2 separate regions of the Homo sapiens genome follow, and region 1 is linked to region 2. Evidence: promoter capture Hi-C in human tissues and cell types (Jung and others, 2019). All regions are on one chromosome and are shown on one strand. The core of a region is centred on a gene start or on the middle of the fragment in contact, and the rest is flanking DNA. Distances in the headings are between cores, read along the strand shown. Region 1 overlaps DENND11 (DENN domain containing 11). Region 2 holds the start of WEE2 (WEE2 oocyte meiosis inhibiting kinase).

Evidence for each region. The method cuts DNA at HindIII sites, captures the fragments that hold promoters and counts their contacts. A contact is called where the count stands out against the background at its distance.
Region 1: a fragment that was not itself captured here is called in contact with the fragment with the promoter of WEE2 in region 2 in 3 of the 25 tissues and cell types used here (bladder, pancreas and spleen).

The regions. Positions count from the first base shown.
Region 1 is chr7:141,664,534-141,669,923 of GRCh38, reverse strand. It overlaps DENND11 (DENN domain containing 11), which reads left to right. Exons shown (of 9, transcript NM_001080392.2): 5 at 3,499-3,637; 6 at 4,606-4,737; 7 at 4,870-5,020. Among named protein-coding and RNA genes, the nearest start is that of DENND11, 35 kb to the left of the region's middle. The HindIII fragment of the contact is 3,190 bases long and covers 325-3,514 here.
Region 2 is chr7:141,704,077-141,709,772 of GRCh38, reverse strand. It overlaps WEE2 (WEE2 oocyte meiosis inhibiting kinase), which reads right to left and starts at 1,420. Exons shown (of 12, transcript NM_001105558.1): 1 at 673-1,420. The coding sequence starts at 1,014. It overlaps WEE2-AS1 (WEE2 antisense RNA 1), which reads left to right. Exons shown (of 4, transcript NR_199841.1): 4 at 4,016-5,696. The HindIII fragment of the contact is 8,083 bases long and covers 1-2,731 here.

The sequences.
Region 1 (5,390 bases), core at 670-3,169, 40 kb after region 2:
CAGGAGAATGGCGTGAACCCCAGGGGGCGGAGCCTGCAGTGAGCCGAGATTGCGCCACTGCACTCCAGCCTGGGCGACAGCGAGACTCCGTCTCAAAAAAAAAAAAAAAAAAAATAGCATGTATGATATAATAATACTTGTCATGGATGGAAAATAATGTAATATATCTGTCAGTTTTTATTGAAATATAACATTTTATAGGAATAAGTTCAAAAATAGTATATATGATACAATACTTGTCATGTATGGAAAATAATATATATATATCTTTAAGCTTTTTATTGAAATATAAAACTTTATAGAAATAAGTTCAAAAATCATACGTATATAATTCAATGAATTTTTACAACATGAACACACGTATAAAGAAAAGCTTTAGTCTGAGCACGGCGGCTCATGCCTGTAATCCCAGCACTTTGGGAGGCCAAGGCAGGTGGATCATGAGATCAGGAATTCAAAACCAGCCTAGCCAACATGGTGAAACCCCATCTCTACTAAAAATGGAAAAATTAGCCAGGCATGGTAGCATGCGCCTGTAATCCCAGCTACTTGGGAGGCTGAGGCAGGATAATTGCATGAACCCAGGAGGCGGAGGTTGCAGTGAGCTGAGATAGCGCCACTGCACTCCAGCCTGGGCCACACAGGGCAAGACTCCCTCTCAAAAAAAAAAAAAAAAAAACTTTAAAGAAGTAAGCTTTTAATGTAGGAGTCAGATATAGGAATGTTTCAGAGGGAAAAAAATAAACTGGAAAGGAAGCAGAGGGAAGAGGAAGACCTCTCTGAGAGGTCCAGATGTGGCTGCTAAATGCTCCCCTTAGGAAAATGGGGGAGTGGGAGAGGGATACAGGGGAGGGGGGCTGGGCCCCGGGAGTGGAGGGCTTCCCTAGTGGCAGGCATGGGTCTATCAGAGCCTGCTATGGACACTGAACTGACAGTGGTTAGGGAGTAAAAAGAAATTGGAGTGAAAAGAGGATGGAGTATGGACTTGAAAGGTTGGAGGGAAAACATGAAGGTACGCACTGGAGACATCAAGAAAAGAGATTTCTCTGTAAAAGCCAGAGAAACAAGGCTGGAAAAAGGGAAAGAGATTTCAATGAAAGCAGGAGGAATTTCTGTTGCATGTGCAGGTGAGAAGGGGTGAGAAGTCTCTAGAGCTGACCCTTTTAGAAGAAAGGAGGTGGCCCTGTGGGCAGTGCTTCCCTGGCATGGGCCTGGGCACAGGGCCTGAACTACTTGCAGGTCCCAAGAAGGGCCATGTTGCCTCTTACCTGCAGGCCTTTGTATGTGAACACCTTCCCTCAGATTCATCTGTTTTTGTTTGTTGTTTGTTTGTTTGTTTTGAGACAGTCTCGCATTGTTGCCCAGGCTGGAGGGCAGTGGTGTGATCTCAACTGACTGCAACCTCTGCCTCCCAGATTCAAGCAATTCTTCTGCCTCAGCCTCCCAAGTAGCTGGGATTACAGGCACGCGACACCACACCCAGCTAATTTTTTGTATTTTTAGTAGAGATGGGGTTTCACCATGTTGACCAGGCTGGTCTTGAACTCCTGACCTTGTGATCCACCCACCTCGGCCTCCCAAAGTGCTGGGATTACAGGCATGAGTCACAGCACCCGGCCTCAGATTCATCTTTATGTCGAAGCTTCAACATCACTTCCCCCAGGAAGTCTTTTCTGTCTCTCCTAGAGTGGGATCAGGCACCCTCCAGTTTGCTCCACCATGCCCCATTCTTCTCCCATCATGGCTCTGTCAGGCTATATTTTAATCGCTTTCTCCCACTAGCCTATAAAATATACATTGGGCAAGCCCCACCTGGCCTCTGTGTGGTGGAAGAACAAGTTGGGAGCTTGAAGATAACCAGTGGGAAAGCTGGGAGGAACCGGCACGTGCTTTGGCACCCTTTCCTATCTGGTTGCTGTTAGACTTTGAAGAGAAATAGCGATTGGAGGGATGCAACCAGCCTTGGTCACTTGGTGCCTCTCCTCCTCATGATTTGGGTTGCGGTGGCAGAGGAGTAGGCGTGGGTGGCAAACAGGACATGTTCAGTTCAGGGTCGCCTTTATCCTGGCATGGGGTAGGGGAATGGTATCAGTGCAGGAGTGATGCCTTGGAAAGGGAAATCCTCTCCGGGTAGTGCAGACACAGCTTCGGAGGGTCCAGGACAGCCCTGGCTTGGACAGGCAGAGTGCAGAGGCTGCCCTGAGGCTCGGGTATAGGTGCCTCTGAAGGCTGGTGGTTGTTAAACCCTAGCACGCAGCCCGAGAGTCGGTGCCTCTCTCAGAAGTGCTCTTGCCTGCCTCCCTGATGGGTGATGAGCTCTTTCTTCTGGCACTTTGGCATGGAAATGACCTTTCACAAAGCTCACAAGGCCCAGGGTTTGAAGCCTTTCTGTTTTTCAAAGCAACAGTAGTGGCCACCCCATATTGGCTATTTTTATGTGCTATTTCATGTTTTGTCTCAGGCGGTCCTTAAAGTAACCCTACGAGGTAGGTGATGATTCCGTATTTCACAGTTAAGGATAGTGAACCGGAAACATTAGCTAACTTTCCCCAGATCTCCCTGTTAGTAAATGGCAGGGCCAGGATTGGAATTCAGCTCTTCCTGGGATCAGAGCTTATGCTCTTAACCCCTATGATACTCCTTGGCTCAGTGTTCCTAGAAGGCAATTCAGGGGTTGCCAGTTAGTGACAGAAGGAAGAGTGGGGCCAGTCGTGGTGGCTCACGCCTGTAATCCCAGCACTTTGGGAGGCCAAGGTGGGCGAATCAGTTGAGGTCAGGAGTTCAAAGCCAGCCTGGCCAACATGGTGAAACCCTGTCTGTACTAAAAATACAAAAATTAGCCGGGCATGGTGGTGCATGCCTGTAATTCCAGCTACTTGGGAGGCTGAGGTAGGAAAATCAAACCCAGGAGGTAGAGGTTGCAGTGAGCCAAGATCACGCCACAGCACTCCAACCTGGGTGACAGAGTGAGTCAGACTCCATCTCAAAAAAAGAAGGAAGAGTGGTCAGAGGTGAAGTGCAGCAGGGGTTATGCCAGGGGCTCCTTCCTACCTGTGACTTCTGCAGACACCTCACTTTGCACAGTAGCAGCCCCCATAGATTTGGGATCTGACTGGGGACTGTTTGCTCATCATGTTATTACTTAACAGTGCTTAGTAATGTTTTCGAGTTGAGTTTTCTTATTGAAGCAGATGCTTTTATTCTGGTTTTTTTAAATTTAAATTTAGCTTTGTTTCCTTTGCATTGTTCTCCTGAGTAAAATAATGATCACTCAACTCAAACATCAGTGTATCAGGGAGCTGTTGTATTATAGAAATCCAGTTTAAAGGTAAGACTTTTAAAGTGAAAAACATCATTGTGTGTGGAAATAAGCATCCTTTAATGTATCTGTTTGGATGGACTTTAGAATTTCAGAGAAGGAGATTAGATACCTTTTGCTATATTTCTAAGAAGCTGTTCCTCACTCTTTCTCCTCCCTATTCCCCTCAATTTTTTCAGATCACACACCCAGCTGGCTGCATGTCTCAGTTTATAAAGTTCTTTGGAGAACAGATCCTCATCCTCTGGAAATTTGCCTTACTTCGAAAGCGCATTTTGATATTTTCTCCCCCACCTGTGGGCGTGGTGTGCTATAGAGGTAACCAGAAGCCAGAGTCAGGAGTGCTGCTTAAATCCCTGGAGCAGAAACTGCTTGAGTCTTTCTGTCACTGACCAAGTTTGGAAGAGCTTGGGCCACATCCAGGGGATGGGGTTTTAAGCCCGGGAGTGAACTGATTGGCTGTGAACACTGTTGACAATGTAGAAGATGGGTTGGATGACACATCAGTGGCCTGGCCAAAGATTAGGGCTGGATTAAAGCAGAGAAGATGCATTCTAGATGGATTTAAGAGAAACTGGACAAAACTTGTTGTCTGATTGGGTTGTAAAGGTTCTGATGTGTGTGAGGTTGCAGTGGAAGCAGAGTCTAGGATAACAAGGGTGGTGGGGCCACCAGATGGGGGACGGAGGAGGAGCCGGGGGCTGGCTTGATAAGGTTAGTGTGGGATGTGATGAGGGTGTGCTGCCTTGAGACCTTCACAGCAGGGGTGTCTGCCCACCCTGCCTAGCTGGGTCGGGACCTGTGGGCGTTTGAGCTGGAGATAAAGATTTGAGGGTGGTAGATTATTTCTGCACTCATATCCAGGATGGACAGCGTTACCTGGGGAAAGTACAAGTGTGGAGGGGTGTTCCAGGCACAGGAAGTGGACCAGAAAGGTGGAAGGACAGAAAGGACTAGGGAGGGACAGGCAGAAGGGGGAACCGGAAGACACAAGGGTTACAGAGGCCGGAGTTCTGACAAGGTCAAATTCTAAGCAAGACCAGCTAGAGAAAGACTGAGAAATGTTTATTGGGTTTGGGAAGCACGTTGTTGACGTCACCTTGAGGGGTCAGTTTCTGCCATGGCACCCCAAAAGGCTTGCCACCTCCAGTCTCCTCAGAACGCCAGGACCACCTGGATCCTGAAGCACCAGATAGCCTGGAGCAGAGGTGTTGAGCCGCAGGCTCCGAGGGAGGAAGGGCTGTGGAGGGGCAGACCCTCCCCGCTCACCTCCTCTATCCCCACAGTGTACTGCTGCTGCTGCTTGGCCAACGTTTCACTGCCTGGCATCGGGGGCACCATTCCTGAGTCCAAACCTTTCTTCTACGTGAACGTGGCTGACATCGAGAGCCTGGAGGTAGAGGTGTCCTATGTGGCCTGTGAGTACGGGGCCCTCCCCTCATCTTGCCCTCAGGTCCCAGCCCTGCTCCTCCCAGACACAGGGCTCCTGGGCGCCTTGTTTCCCAGTGGGGTCGGGTGGGTTCCCACCTCTCTAACCCCGGGTTCCACAGGCACCACAGAGAAGATATTCGAGGAGAAGCGGGAGCTGTATGACGTCTACGTGGATAACCAGAATGTGAAGACACACCACGACCACCTGCAGCCGCTGCTGAAGATCAACAGTGCTGACAGGGAGAAGTACCGCCGGCTCAACGAGCAGAGGTAGTGGCAGCTAAGGGGAGAACCAGGGGCTCCACCCTCCTCAGGGCAGCTCCAGCATGGGGGTCTCTGCAAAGCCTGTCTTCTGCCCCTTCCCTGACACATTTCTCCCAGTCTCCATGCTGCCTGGGATGGAGATGGAAATGAAGGGAAGCCCCGCAGTAGAAGAGGCCAGGCTCCCTGTATGCTGCCCTGATAGGAGGGGAGTAGATCCACGGTGCTGGTTTATTTCTTCTCATGGACTTTGGAATCTGTGGAAATTACCTTAGCTGCCAGCTGCTCTCCACGTGACCTTTAGATGTACCTGTGTGTGCGGCTTAGAAGCACCTTGACTGAGCACCTTCATTGTGTTGGTCGCCGTATTAGAAGCTTG
Region 2 (5,696 bases), core at 171-2,670:
ACTCTTGCTTATTTGCCATCCTCAGCTTATGAAGAAGTATCAACAAGTTTCCTCTTTGCTGACATATACTAGAAGAACCTGGAGGTTCTTCTATTAGACCAAGGAGGGGAGAGGAGTTGTTTCTGGGAGGAGCAGCAGCAAAGAGATATGACTATGTTCAAACAGTGAGTGTGGACGTTCTTATATTAGAAAGTATTAGTAAATAATCACACAAAAATAGAGCCAGTTGGCGTAATGGAAAGAACAATAGACTAGGCCAAAAAGATCAGGTTTCTAGTCCTGTCTGTAACATTGGCTGAGCTGTGAGACAGTTTCTGTCTTGGGCCCTTCATTTTCTCATATGTAAACTGCACAGCTGGAGCTCTAAATCTCAATATTCCTTCCAGTTCCAATATTCTTTAACTAGGGACTTTTTTCTACCCAAGATTTGTTTGTGGCCAATAGCCAACAGTTACTGGCACCAGTGGTTTTGAGAAGACAACTGGCAAACCATTTAATTCTGTCCATTTTCTGGTAATTTTAATTTCTTCATTTTCATCAATAAATGTGTAATTGAGGATATACACAGCCTGGAGGTGACTGTCATACACACATGAATCCACTCTATCAGCTAAACTACAGGAAAGCAGAGCTTGGCGACCTGCGTCCCTTTTTCCCCCACCCCTTACTTACTTTGGGAGTAGAGGGGCTGTCACTGGGCAGCAGCTTGCTCCTGCTGTCTGGTTGGGCTGGTGTCTCAGGACATTTGAGAGGGTGTGACACTGGAGTCCTCAAAATCTGATCTGGACTTTCTTTGTCTTTTTCCGAAGATGTGTCGAGCTCATGCACGTTGCTAAGGGGAGTCCAAGGTGGTGTACCCTTTGCCTCTGAATCCTGCACTTCACCCTTCTCTGGGGTTTGGCTCGAAGCCTCCCTGCTTTCTTCTACTTTCTTCTGCCCTTCAATCTCAGTCTCCTCACAATAGGAAAAGTTTAATTTCTGCCTTAGTTCTTTGTCAATATCTTTGTCATCCATCTCAGCCAAAGAGCTTTACAACACAGACAAAAAGCTCTATCAGAAGGGAACGCTGTGAACCTACAGAAGCAGGGAGGAGAAAATAACTTAACCTGCAGGTTTCGCGACGGTAGCCTGAATTTCCCTCTACCAACTAACAGCTACAAAACACGGTGTTAATTTTCTGCCTTAAGTACCACCAATCTATAAGACCTCAGCTTATCCTGATTTCCATTCTGATTAAAGAAAGCTCCAGTGACTCTCGGAGCAATTAAATGCAGTTCATGTACAGAACTCTTCTGGATATGACACATAGTCTCCCATGTGTTACCAAATACTAGTGAGAAAATTGAATTCCTTTAATTTAGCATGGCTTTAAAAATACCCATTAGCCAATTTGGGAATAAGCTAATATTGAAAAGAAATTATTTTCACTCCTTACACCTGCCATTTATAAATATCACCCTCTCCTCCCTTCTCCTCCCCACCCACCCAATAGCTAACAGCAGGTAATTACAATTTAGCATCACCTGGCTATCATAATGATCCTTAAACAGCCTCTAACATATCTTGACTGGAGTTTGTATCCCTGACAGAGACACAGCTTAGCTCTGTGCCAAACACACCTGCCCTAATTCAGGCATCTCCCTCCTGCAGCTGTTAGCTGTTAGCAGTTAAAGCTTCTAGGGAATTGAACAAAAATTTAAACTGACAAAAGAAAGGCTAGAAAGATCAACAAACCATAGAAACAGATATTGATCACTGGAAAACAGCAATGGCTTCTGCCAAAAATGCCTTATATTGTAAAATGCTTTTTAATATCTTTAGTACACATTATTTAATTTCTTTCTCAGAGAAGCCCCTATGAGAAGGATGGAAAACTCTTTGAAGAAAAAAACAACTATTATACAATCAAGCTGTCCCTCTTCTCTTCCAGTTATATAGCCAAAGGAAATAAAATCACTATCTCAAAAAAATACCAACACACCCATATTCATTGCAGCATTATCCTCAACAGCCAAGATATGGAAACCACCTAAATAGCCATGGACAGATGAATAAAGAAAATGTGGTGAATACACACACACACACACACACACACACACACACACACACAATAGAATATTACTCAGTCATAAAAAAGGAAAGGCTGCCATTTGTGATAACATGGATGAACCAGGGGGATATTAAGTGAAATAAGCCAGGCACAGAAAGACAGATACTACATGATCTTACTTATATGTGGAATCAAAAACAGTTGATCTCCTAGAGGGAGGGAGTAGAATGGTGGTTACCAGGATCTGGAAAGGCAGGGGAAATGGGGAGATGCTGATCAAAGGGTACACACTTTCAGGTATAAGATGAACAATTCTGGGGACCTGATGTACAGCATGGGTGCATATGGGTGTGGTAAATTTTTGGTAATCATTACACAATGTATAGGTATATCAAAGGAAAAAGGCCTCACTGATATCACATTATAGAAGAAAACTATGTGAGAGGCAGTCCATGAAAAAGGAAAATGATACACTCATGCCCCTCAAGGAGGCTTCAGAGGGACTGCAAATAGGGAATTATTTACATGATAAACATGGGCCCAAAGAGAGACAGGAACCAAGGCCAGCTTGATGAGTTTGAAACAAATGTTATTTCCCTTCTCTTTATAGTCTTTGCTACCTGTCACCCCTCTTCCATTTCCCTCTTTTCACAGATCTCTCCACCACTTTCTCCTAATTCCTTCCCCATTCCCAGCCAGAACTCCTGAGGAGGGTAATCCAAATGAAAACTAACTGGGGAGACTTCAAAGTGTTTTTTCAGCTCAAAGCCTTCTCATGCTCCAGCCCTTTGTAGGTGGGCACACCAATTCATCCTTCCTTGGCCCTTCCCTACAGCCTCCCACCCACACAAACTATCCCAGATAATTCAACAGGGGGTAAAATATTGCTCACAAAATGCAGTAACTCACTGCCCACCTTTGTCAGAGATTCAGTATCCTACAGGGGCCAGTAAAAACAGAATCATCAAAGAAAAAGGAGAACTCATAGGTTACCAGTAATGCAATTATTATCAACTGGGATTCTCAGCCTAGGAGTGTCTTGTTTACAAATCAGCAAGCCAGATGATAGATTTCTTTTCTATAGCCTTGGTGTTGATGAATTTCCCCTCACATGCCATGGCTTGTCATTCCTGCCTCTCCAGGCAGCTAGAGGCTGGCTTTGCTCTCAGTAAAACAGGACTGACTCAAAACACTGGCTATATTATTGTCCTGTAGACAGGGCACAGGGGCTGGTTTATTAGGTATTACCCAAGTAGACCAGGTTTTCTTTTTTTTTTTCTATCACCTGCTGCTTTTTCTCTCTCCCTTGCTATAATTCTTGATTACCCTTATTTATGACTACATTGTTTGCCTAGGGAGGCAGCTATGCCATTGCAATGGTTGAGGTCTTATGTTATCGGCAGTAATACTGTTAGAAACTTGCACCATTCACCTTTTCATGTATTGTTACTCAGAAGATAATGATTGTGGCTAAGTCTTCAGAATAAGAAAGGTGTAACAATGAGTACAAAAAAGATATCCCAAATTTGGACAACTAAATAATAAGAATTGCATAGTTGCTGATCTGGATGACCCAAGGGAATCCCTAGAGGTGCTACCTATGGCCTCTGGCCCATGGCCTCACTATTTTTTTGGTCACATTGTAGCCTTTTCTTCATTTTTAGCCTCTTTCCATTATGAAAAATTTCATCTCTGCTTCAGTATATGTTAATCCCACAGGCATCCATCCCAGCATAAAGCTTCAGGTGATAGTTGAGATGATGTGTCAAAAGGGGGACCCATGTAATCTGTGGCAATAAGAGGAAAAGGGGAGGGTTTCCCCCTTAATGCCTAACATATAGTAGGTGTTCAATAAATTGTTTTTGGATGAATTTGGGGAAATAAATTAATATATTTCAATCATGTTTAAAATACTCCATATTTGACTTTTTAAAAAAAATTTGAATTTTTTTCTTAATGTGTCAGGAGTTGCTGCACAGGGGGAAAGCGAAGTTCCCAGGAGTAAGATGTGCAAGAAGCGGGCAGCCTTGCATCTCAGGGCTGAGTTCCCTCAACTGTGTGCTTGAGGGAAGTTCTCCCCTTGCAGACACACTGCTGAGTGATAAGGAAGCACCTAGACTCCACTCTGACCAGACTTGGTTCTGAGGCCTATGAAATGTTGATGGGAAGAACAGAAGCAGGAAAATCTATCTATTCAAATTTGCAAGACGTGGAAACTTTTATTCACCTTCCTGGTTAGACTGTTCCTTTGTCAAAGTAAAGCTAAGGCCATGGAAAATGAGCTATTTGAGAGTTTGTCGCTCCAAGGAAGAACATGCTGGCCTAATTGTCCCCCAAGTCAGGAGAGAGAATTGTAAAAAACACTTAAACAGGCCTAAGTAAAGGTCCAGCACATTATTTATTTAAGACTGAATTAGAACTGAGTCATTCCGACTCTGAAAAAAGAGTGTTGTTGGATTCTTATGTATTTAATGGGTCTGCCCTATTGAAAACCATTGTGAAGTATGGTTTCCCAAGCAAGAAATGACACTTTCACTGTCAGTCTTTCTAGGAGTCTGGCAGAATCCAGGACCGGGATTACCCTTATTTATGAAGCGACCTTAGACTAACAGTGGCTCTCTGGGTCTCCAGACAATTGGCCAGGGACTCTAAAAACCAGAAACAAAGTTGAGAGAACTCCATGCTGGTGGAGAAAAACAGCTGGCCTTTATCACCAGAATGTGCCCCATAGAAGCAGCAAAGCAGCAAGCGACGTTCTTAAACAAGGGCCTGTGGGCCTCGTCAAGATCTGGAGGAATCATCTACGACTCACTGCTGAGTGAGAGGGCTAGGCAGTGTCTTTAAGGTCCTGCCAGCTTTAACATTGTATGCTTTTTCTTTTGTTCAATCTCTCACCACAACTGGAAGTGTTGCCTCAACTACACAGGAGAAAGTTTGCAGTAACTTAGAGAAAACATTATTTTAATCACCAGTGTATGTTCTCCTGCTCCCTGGACAAATCCATCAGCAGCGGCAACACTGACCAGGTCCAGATTGGGGCCGCTGCGGTGGATGTGAATCCATTGAAACTAGGGGTCTCCAGTGCTCCTGACTCCTCACAGCTCTGTTCCTATGACAAGGATGGTCAGCAAAGCCAGCAACCTTGAAGGGGGACCTTCTTCTAATCTCCTCCCTGCCTGCTGAGAGAGTGTACAGAAGCAGCCACTTGTCAGCTGCGATGAATCCAATGATAATTACATAAATCATTAACAATACTTGATATTTGCCCATCACATTTCTCATTTCAAAGTGCTCATAAAATTGTATCTCATGGGTGGCACTGCCGGCACAACAGAATTCCAAGGAAGGATTACGGGCTAAGTAAATAAAGCCTGGAGGCTGCTTTAAAGCCTAGGAGTCTGTTATTAACCCTTTCCTCCTTTTTGTTTAACTTTTTCTCATGGAAATGTTCAAACATACCAAAAATAGAGAAAATACTATAATGAGTCCTTATGTATCCATAACCTAGCTTCAAAAATTATGTATGGCTTTACAGTCTTGTTTAGTTCATAACTGCAACTTCATTGAGGGTGAGTGCTGGGGTATTGTGAAGCAAATCAGTGACAACATATTTTACCCATGGATACTTTAGTGCCATTAATAAAAA